2 separate regions of the Homo sapiens genome follow, and region 2 is linked to region 1. Evidence: promoter capture Hi-C in human tissues and cell types (Jung and others, 2019). All regions are on one chromosome and are shown on one strand. The core of a region is centred on a gene start or on the middle of the fragment in contact, and the rest is flanking DNA. Distances in the headings are between cores, read along the strand shown.

Region 1 (4,594 bases), core at 987-3,486:
TTAAAACAAAATCCTCCAAAGATTTTGATAAAAGTTGACAAAACCCCAAATGAAAACCAAAGCTGCTCAAACTGAAGCCAAGAAACCAATAACTGATCTGCACCATTATGAACTGCTTTGCAATACCCACCACCAGCTCTACTCAGAAACACAACACATTTACATATACCCTGAATCAGATGTTCAGAGAACACGGAACATGCTTGCAGCCCTCTCCAGGGAGGACCTCAATTTCTAGGACAGGGAATGCGTGCTGAACACCAAAGGATCACTACCCACAACCACCACCTCACCAACCAGCAACCAAATCCTCTTTCAGGGAGAAATGAAGGCCTTATGGGTCATGAGCTCCAAAGAAAAATGCTGCAGTATTTCAAGAACCAGGTTACATGTAATGTGCTATAAAGCTTTCAGCATTTTAAGTCTGATTCCCCCAAGATTCCTACCAGGATGGTACCGTGTGGTAATGTTATCCAGCCATTTGCATCACAAATCAAAAAAAAAATTTTTTTTGAGAAAAGAATAAAAGCACAACATCCCCCCCTCCACATCTTCTAATGCACGTGGAGAAAAGAGAAGTGCAGAGGGATTTTGAGACAGTGAAAAACCTACCACACCCGAAATCTCCATTGGAAAGCTAAAACATCCCCCAGCCCTAACACACTGCTACCTCTCTCTAAAGGCTCTCCAGGTTCAAACTTGGGAAAACAGTTATAAAAAGCACTCTCCCCCTTTACCCCCATGGCCCCCACCCACACTTCCTGCTTCCATCCCTGACTCTCTGGTGCCCACTGTGCATAAAAAGCAGTTTTCCTTGTGTGGCAGAGCTTGCTCCATGCTAATTATTTCTCCCTCCCCCTGACTTTAGCCAGATGCAATCCAAAGTTTCTTCTACCCTCCCCCCAAACAGATGACATCCATTTATTATGAACGCTGATGCAGAACCTTGGAATCTCCGGACATAAAATGTATTCCCTCATGCTTCAAAAACTGCAGTGTAAGTGAGGAAGAGGGCATAGGGTGGAGTAGTCGGATGGAATGCATGGTTTGAAGAATCCTATTTATCGGGCTGAAAAATGGTTCCCATTCCATCCCAACTCGAAGCTGGGGCCCCTGAAAGGGTCTGACAGTCCTGGCTAACCCCTGGAAAGTTAGCCAAGTCTCCACCGGTGGTTGTTGCTGGCAATGGAGGGGATGGAGCTGAGCTCTCAGGAGAAACTGCAGAGGCTTTGCGGTGCCCCAAGGTACCAAGTGAGAACTAGAGAGGAGGGTCCAAGCCCACGGAGCTGGGCAAACAGTCCTGTACCCCAACGCTAACAAGAAGCCAAGGGTGCTGCTGCTGATGGTAAGGTGGGGGAGGGAGAGGAGAGGAACAAGCTCTGCATCGGGTGGCGTGGGGGTGGGGGGTGGGGGTGGGGGTGGGATGGGGGAAGGGGATATTCTCAAAGTGATGTGCTTCCAAATGCAGGAATCCTCGCCTGCCGAGGAAGGTCCCGGGAGCCCCCATCACAACTCCAGAGCACCCTGTTGGGAGGGGGACGAACGCATCCGAGTAAAGGACAGAGGGAGTCGGGAGTGCTGGCTGCGGGAAGAACCCAGGAGCCCTTGGCTTCTGCAGTTTTTAGCAGTGTGAAGCCGGCTGAGGGAGAAGGATGCAGTAAGACATGGGGGAGGGGGAGGGCTGAGGGGCTGCTGTAGGAAGATCCCGACAGCGCTGCCCTTCCCAGTGCAAGCCGGCTAGGGGCCCCAACTCTGCCCGGCACTGAGGGAGGGATGGAGGGCTGCACCGCGGAAGGGGCACCAAGGACGGGCCGTGTCCCTCACTGTAGCCGAGACGGAGAAAGCAGGGTGTCCGGGGTGGGGACTGGTGGTCCTCAGTTCTCTTAAGAGACCCCCGGTACACACAGTAGAAGGAAGCAAGAGTTCCAAACACCTGTCCAAAACAAGGAGAGCAGAGCCCCAGCTCCACGGCCCCTGGAGCCCCGCCGCGCACTCTGCGGCAAAGCCCCTGACTGGAGATGGGCGAGCCCCGCTCAAGGGTCCCGAGGCGAGAAGGGAAACCCGGAGGGCAGGAAGCAGCGCTAGGGCGGGGGCTCTGGGGCGACTTACGGCAGCGGCGGCGGCGAGGGAGGCAGCGGCGGCCCTAACGCGGGGCCCGGGAGGCGCGGCCGGACTGCAAAGGCGCCGAGGATGCGGCGGGCGGGACTGCGGTGGGCGCCATCTTGGAGCGCTCCCCGCGCCCGCCCCCCGCACCGCCCGAGTCCTTGCATAATTGATGACTCGCGCCCGCCGCGCGCCACCGCGCGCGCGCCCCTACTGCCGGGCCCCCCGCCCGCCCCGCCCCCGCGCCTACCCCTCCGCGCGCGCCCCCTGCCCGGGCCGGCCCCGGCCCGCAAGCGCCGCTGCCACCGCCCCCGCCCCCTCCCTGCGCTTCGCGCCCGCCCGCCCGCGCCCCCGCGGCCCACCTACCCCTGCAGGGCGCGCCCGCTCGCCCGCTCGCCTGCAGCGCGCCGCCCGCCCGCAGGCTCTCAGACTCGCGTCTCCGCGCCGCCGGGAGCGGATCAGGGGCAAGAGGGAACAGGGCGCCGGCAGGGGGCGCCGCGCGGGAGCGCCAGCGAGCGTCCCCGGGCCCGCCTCCACTACGCCCCCGCCGAGCCGCCGGGAGGGGCCGCGGGCTGAGGACCGGGACCCGCCGCGAGACGCTGGCTGGCTGCTCGCCAGCGCCGGGCGGCGAGACCCGAAAGCTGTCGTGGTGACCCGCGTGCTCTGTGGCCCGCGTCAGTGCCAAGTCTTACCTTTCTCCTGCCCCCCAACAGTGCCGCGCTCAGTGAAGTTTCTGACATCCAAAAGCGCAGGGAACTCAATTTACAGGATCTTGGGCCCACTGAAAAAACGAGAAGTCAATCAGCGGCAGGTGGAGGCTCGTGTTTCAGCCCACAGGGACCTGCTGCCAGGAGCGGGGAGGCGCTGCCTCCCTGACAGCCCCCAGGCCACCTCAGTCTTTCCGATCCTCAGTCTGTCCATCTGTAAAGTAGGCATGAGCATTTCGACCGCTCACTCCACCCTCGCGAGGATCTAGGTAATGAGTGCCAGAGCTCTTGGCACTTTACTGTGTCTCTCCTCTACTTAATATTTTCCTACCACCAATCACAAGAGGGAAAAAGGGTGTAACAACCTCTCCAAACCTCAGTGTTCTCGTCTGTAAAAGGAAACAGTCACAGTAGCAACCTTATAAACTTCTTGTTTGTACTAACGGGGAGCATGCACTTCACACATTGCTAACACAGCCAGGCACATGGTATGCTTATCACATAATGTGCCCTCTACAATACATTTAAAATTAGCTTTACTGGGGTATATTTGCGTGTGTTTAGATTGTACAATTTTGAGTTATGTGTGCACTCATGAAACCATCACCACCAAGGTAATGAACACACCCATCACCTCCAAAAATTTCTCCGTGTGCTTCTTTGTAATCACTCCCTGCATCGCTCGCCCCCACACACCCTCTCCAGGCAACCACTGATCTTCTTTCTATTACTGTACATTGGTTTGCATTTTCCGGAATTTTAAATAAATGGAATCATACAGTACAAACTCTCTTTTTTGTATGGCTTCTTCCACTCGGCATAATCGTTTTGAGATTATTCAGTCGTTGCCTATCAAGAGTTCTTTTTTACTGCTTAGTAGTATTCTTTATGGGGATACACCACAATGTGTTTATCCAGTCACCTGTTGATGACATTTAGGTTATTTCCAATGTTTGTCCGTTACGAACAAAGCTGTTATGAGCTTTCGTGTGCAGGTCTTTGTATGGATATATATGCTTTCGTTTCTCGTGGGTATAAATATCTAGGAATGGAATAACTGAGTCCTGTCTTAGGTGTATATTTAACATATTAAGAAAGGGCCAAACTGCCTTCCAAAGTGGTTGTGCCTTTCCATTCCTACTAGCAGCACATGAATTTCAGTTGTTCTACATCCTCACCAACATTTGGAGTGATCAGTCTTTTTAATTTTAGCCATTTGAATAGATGTGTAGTTTTATCTCGCTGTGGGTCTGTCGTCCATTTCACTAGTGACTAAAGATGTTGAACATCTTTTCATGGACTTGTCATCTGTAAATCCTCCTGGCGAAGTGTCTCTTCAAGTCTTTAGCCTATTTAAAAATTGGTGGGGTTTTTTCTTGTTAATTGAGTTTTACGAGTTGTTTATATATCCTGGCTGGGCTCAGTGACGCATGCCTGGTGTCCCAGCTACTCTGGACACTGAGCAGGAATAATTGCTTAAACCTAGGATTTCAAGTCCAGCATGGACAACACAGGAGACTCTGATTCTAAAATTTTTTTAAAAAAATTAAAGAGTTGTTTATATATTGTGGATACAAATCTTCTGTCAGACATGTGATTGGCAAATATTGTTTCCCAGTTTAGGCTTATCTTTTTATTCTTTTTACTCTCTTAACAGTGTTTTTCCAAAAGCAGAGGTTCTTCAGCCAGTTGTCCTGGTGCACACTTGTAGTCCCAGCTACTCGGGAGGCTCGGGCAAGAGGATCTCCTGAGGCCAGAAGTTGGAGGCTATAATGTGTTATAAT
Region 2 (4,447 bases), core at 1,329-3,828, 200 kb before region 1:
AAGTCCAAAGCAGAGCCAAGTCTGTTCCCTGCCCCTCACCCAGCTTGTTCCTCTCATCTCAATTATTCATCCAGGCTCTCAAGCCAGGAATCTGGGCATCATCTTTGTCTCTTTCTTCTCCCTCATCTGATCCACTGAAGGGCCTGTTGATTCTTCCTCCAAAATTATAACTTGGGTTCATCCACTTCATTCCATTTTTATTGGCTCTATGCTAACCTGAGCCACCATCATCTCTCATCTGGACTTGTATGGCCACTTAACTGGTCTCCCACTTCTTCTCTTGCCCTCATCCAATGCAGTCCTCATATAATAGCAAGTGTAATGATTTAAAACAAATGGATCATGGCCAGGTGCGGTGGCTCACGCCTGTAATCCCAGCACTTTGGGAGGCCGAGGCCTCCCAAAATTGATCACTTGAGGTCAGGAGTTCAAGACCAGCCTGGTCAACATGGTGAAACCTTGTCTCTACTAAAAATACAAAAATTAGCCGGGCATGGTGGCAGGCGCCTGTGGTCCCAGCTACTCGGGAGGCTGAGGCACGAGAATTGCTTGAACCTGGGAGGCAGAGGTTGCAGTGGGCCGAGATCACGCCACTGCACTCCAGCCTGGTTAACAGAGAGAGACTCTGTCTCAAAACATAAAACAAAAAACAAATGGATCACATCATTCCCCTACTTAAAACCTTTCAAGAGCTTCCCACTGGGCTTGCAACACAATCCCTATTTGTTAACCTGGCTTACGGGGAGACACCTGGCACAGTCTGACTCTGCTCATCAATGTCCCTCCTCTGGCTCGCCACCCCCTGGCCACACTGTTTTCTGCTTCTGGGGTCTTGTGTATTCTGCCAGGAATCTCTTTCCCCAGCTCTTTGGTTCCATCTTTTTTTTTTTTTTTTTTTTTTTTTGAGATAGGGTCTCGCTGTCTTCCCCAGGCTGGAGTGCAGTGGCATGATATAGCTTACCATATCCTCTGCAGCCCTGACTCCTGGACTCACGCCATCCTCTCACCTCAGCCTTCTCAGTAGCTGGGACTACAGGCATGCTACCAGGCTCGGCTAATTTTTTTTTTTTTTTTTGTACAGATGGGGTTTCACTGTGTTGCCCAGGCTGGTCTAGAACTCCTAGGCTCAAGCGATCTGCCTGCCTCTAGATCCCAAGTTGGGATTACAGTATGAGCTACCGTGCCCAGCCAGTTCCTTCTCATCCACTCAAGTAGACCCTCCTTAGTGAGGCTTTCTCTGACTACTATATTAAAGTAGATCCACCACTTATAGCCCTCTAGTTAATTTTTTTCCTACAATCTTCCACATTTTATTGTAGCTGTTTGCTTACTTATTTATTATCTATCTCCCCAACTATTATAAGCTCCATGACAGCAGTCTACCTTTTGTTCATCACATAATGCTTAGTGCACGGTACATAGTAAAGACTGATAAATATTTGCTAAATGAATGTTAATCACTCTTTATTAATGTTTCCTACTTTTTAAAATATTTTATTTTATTTTGTATTTTTTGAGACAGGGTCCCTCCCTATTGCCCAAGCTGGAGTACAGTGGCACGGTCATGGCTCACTGCAGTCTTGGCCTCCAAGCTCAAGCAATTCTCTTACCTCAGCCTCCTACGTAGTGAGGACCACAGGTACACATAACCACGCCCAGCTACTTTTTACAAAATTTTTTTGTAGAGATGGGGTCTCATTATGTTGCCTAGGCTGGAAGTTATATTTTAATGTGGAAGAAAATACACTCAGGTTCCCATATGGAAAGTACTAAACAGAACTTTAGAAATGTTAACCCTTTTCTATTCCCTTTAGTCCCATTTCTATCACAAAATGAAGGCTTAACATCAAGGAAATAAAAAACCCCAAATGTTCTCTTTCTTGAGATTCCTTGCTTTTTTGTTTGTTTGTTTGTTTGAAGTACTGAGATACTTGGGCTGGTGCTTATTTCCAGGATTACTTTAACTTGGTGGTTTTCAATCTGCCCTGCAAAGCCCTAGAATTTCTTTTCCTTCAAAAGTTGATGCGGTAGATGTACCACGTGCGGCGTGTGGGGGTGAGGGGAGAAAACGTTCTGGAACTATAACTCTTGATTCAAACATAGTCACTCTACTTTTATTTCTACAAATTAGATTATCAGGGAAGCTTTTGTATTAAAGGTTCTGCTGGGTTTTTTTGGTGGTGTTGTGTCTGTTTTTTAAAGTTGCTAAATGGAAGTTACAGAAGAAGGAACTTTGGGCCTGGCTTTTGGGGGTGATGTCCCATCCAACCGGATATATGGAATCAGGAGCAGGGTATCTCCTTCTCCTTCTCTGAAACAAGACAACCATCACCAATGGAACAATGGAGCAGAATCTCAGCCCCCTAATCTGTTTTATAAAAGGCTCAGCTCAAGAGAGGCAATCAGGGCACCAGACTCCCATAGTTTTACCCTCTTCTGCTCCCACAAATAACCAGAAGCATGATTTTAACTTCTAGATACATCCTGCAAAGACATCCTTATTGAGCAGAGAGAAGCTGAAAAAATTATGACCAAATCCTATCTTGAACTGGCAGGAAAGAGAGCAACTTTATTTCATTTTCTCTTGTTGACTTTTGGTTGTCTCTAAAAACATCTCTCTACTAGGGCCAAAGCCAATGTGGTTCACATGCTGATTCTTGGTGGCTGCCCAAGGAAGGCTCAGAGGATAGGTCGAGGATTGATGTAAAAGCCCCCATGCCTTAATCCCTGTTCTTCTGCTGTCCTATTCAGATCTTTTGGATGGGTGGTGAGGAGAGGATTAGGCACAAAGCAGCCAATCACTTACCTTTTTCCTTCCTTTGCAGTAACTCTACTAGTACTTTTCCTATATGGGTTCTCACCAAGGCCTCAGCCTGCACAATGCACTTACCAAGGGGCGGGGAATAGGTTTCTGTGGCTTCTTTGAGCCCAGCTTTTTCATGGCATTGTAGTACTTCTTCTGTTCTTCGGTCATGAAGATGTCCTGACCTCCGAAGTAAAGGAGGGAAGAAGAAAACAGACAATTACAACTGGCTCTCAACATGCTATGGGTTTGGACCTAAGGTTCAATACTGAGAACTGAGGGGAGACCTATCCCTTTCCTTTGTAGCTAATAGCTGTCCCAGAGTGGGGTAGACCCGCGATAATCATTCAGCTCTAAAGAGATACCTGCCTTTGTTTTTAGCTCAGGATTTCTAAGATCTTCCAGTCCCAAGGTAGAAAGGAAATGGACTATCCAATTATAGACCCTCAGAAAGGGTAAACTTGAGAGCAGTGACTCTGAAGGCAGTCATATCTCAGAGTCTCATTTTCTGGGGGCCAGCTTTCCTGATACATTCTAGAAAACACATTTTAGAATAAAAAGATCTTTGTGTCCTGGCTGATAGCCAATTTATTTTAGATGATACCCAAAATTTGGAAATTCTGGTGCAAGAAAGCAATTTGGAGGGTGTCTTGGAGTATGCTGGGATAGACTTGACTTACAAAATGAGCAACGAGCAATTTTTTCAATTTGCTTTGTAAAACTTGTTAACCATCTAGAACAAGTAAGGAAGTAAACTTTCCAAAGGTGGGTCTCTCAAATCCCAATTTGCTTGTGCTCAGAGATTGACTAGATAATCACAAGTCTAGACAGTTTCTACTTCTTGCGATAGCTATTCATCTGTTTCTTTCCTTTTCATCTCTGTTGCTCGACTGCACTCTCTGACCTACCTGCTTCTGGTGGGAGACCAAGACCAGTAATAGGCCTCAAGAATAAAAGACTGCTAGTAAGTGTGGTAAACTACATGCTGCAAAATCCAGCCCCGAACAGAAAGAGTGGGTTGGGGCTAACGTATGGGGGCCAGGGTCACAGTGAGCTAACAATATAGATTTTAGAGAAAGAAAGAGGGACATTTTCTTTCTAGAGATAGGGACAAAGGTGCCTCTTATCTGGGCTGACTTCCAACCACTGGCAATGAGGGGAGGAGACCTATCTTTTTCTTTTGTTGATTGAAGTTATCAATGATGACACCAATGAACAGGTTCAGGGTGAAGAAGGAGCCGAAGATGATGAAGATGACAAAATAGATGTACATGTAGATATTGTCCTCATACTTAGGCTGCTCATCAGGCTGTCAAAGGACAGGATAAAAGGAAGAGAATCAGCTCCTAGTTTGGAGTTTGACACGCCAAGGCCATCAGCCGTAACTGTGACCATTTGAGCTGCTAAACATCTTGGGGTGGGAGAGCCCTAGATTCTTTCTGCCTGCCTCCTTCTCTACACTGGCATGGCCTGCCTTGAGAGGACACTAGTCGTCCTCTGACTCATGTGGAGAACATGCAAATCATGAGGCCACAGGGAGGGAGGGCTGTCTGCTAGGAGCCATACTTTTGCTATGAAGCAGGATTGAAGCATAGACAGCTTCACTGGGGCCACGTAAAAAATCAACAGTCTAATCATCGGGGG

Evidence for each region. The method cuts DNA at HindIII sites, captures the fragments that hold promoters and counts their contacts. A contact is called where the count stands out against the background at its distance.
Region 2: a fragment that was not itself captured here is called in contact with the fragment with the promoter of SCN8A in region 1 in 3 of the 25 tissues and cell types used here (IMR-90 fibroblasts, dorsolateral prefrontal cortex and small bowel).

The regions. Positions count from the first base shown.
Region 1 is chr12:51,588,875-51,593,468 of GRCh38, reverse strand. SCN8A (sodium voltage-gated channel alpha subunit 8) reads right to left here and starts at 2,236. Exons shown (of 27, transcript NM_001330260.2): 1 at 2,110-2,236. RefSeq lists a silencer at 2,484-2,733. The HindIII fragment of the contact is 14,911 bases long and covers 1-4,594 here.
Region 2 is chr12:51,788,946-51,793,392 of GRCh38, reverse strand. SCN8A (sodium voltage-gated channel alpha subunit 8) reads right to left here. Exons shown (of 27, transcript NM_001330260.2): 24 at 3,975-4,112; 25 at 2,891-2,995. Among named protein-coding and RNA genes, the nearest start is that of TMDD1, 24 kb to the left of the region's middle. The HindIII fragment of the contact is 7,053 bases long and covers 1-4,447 here.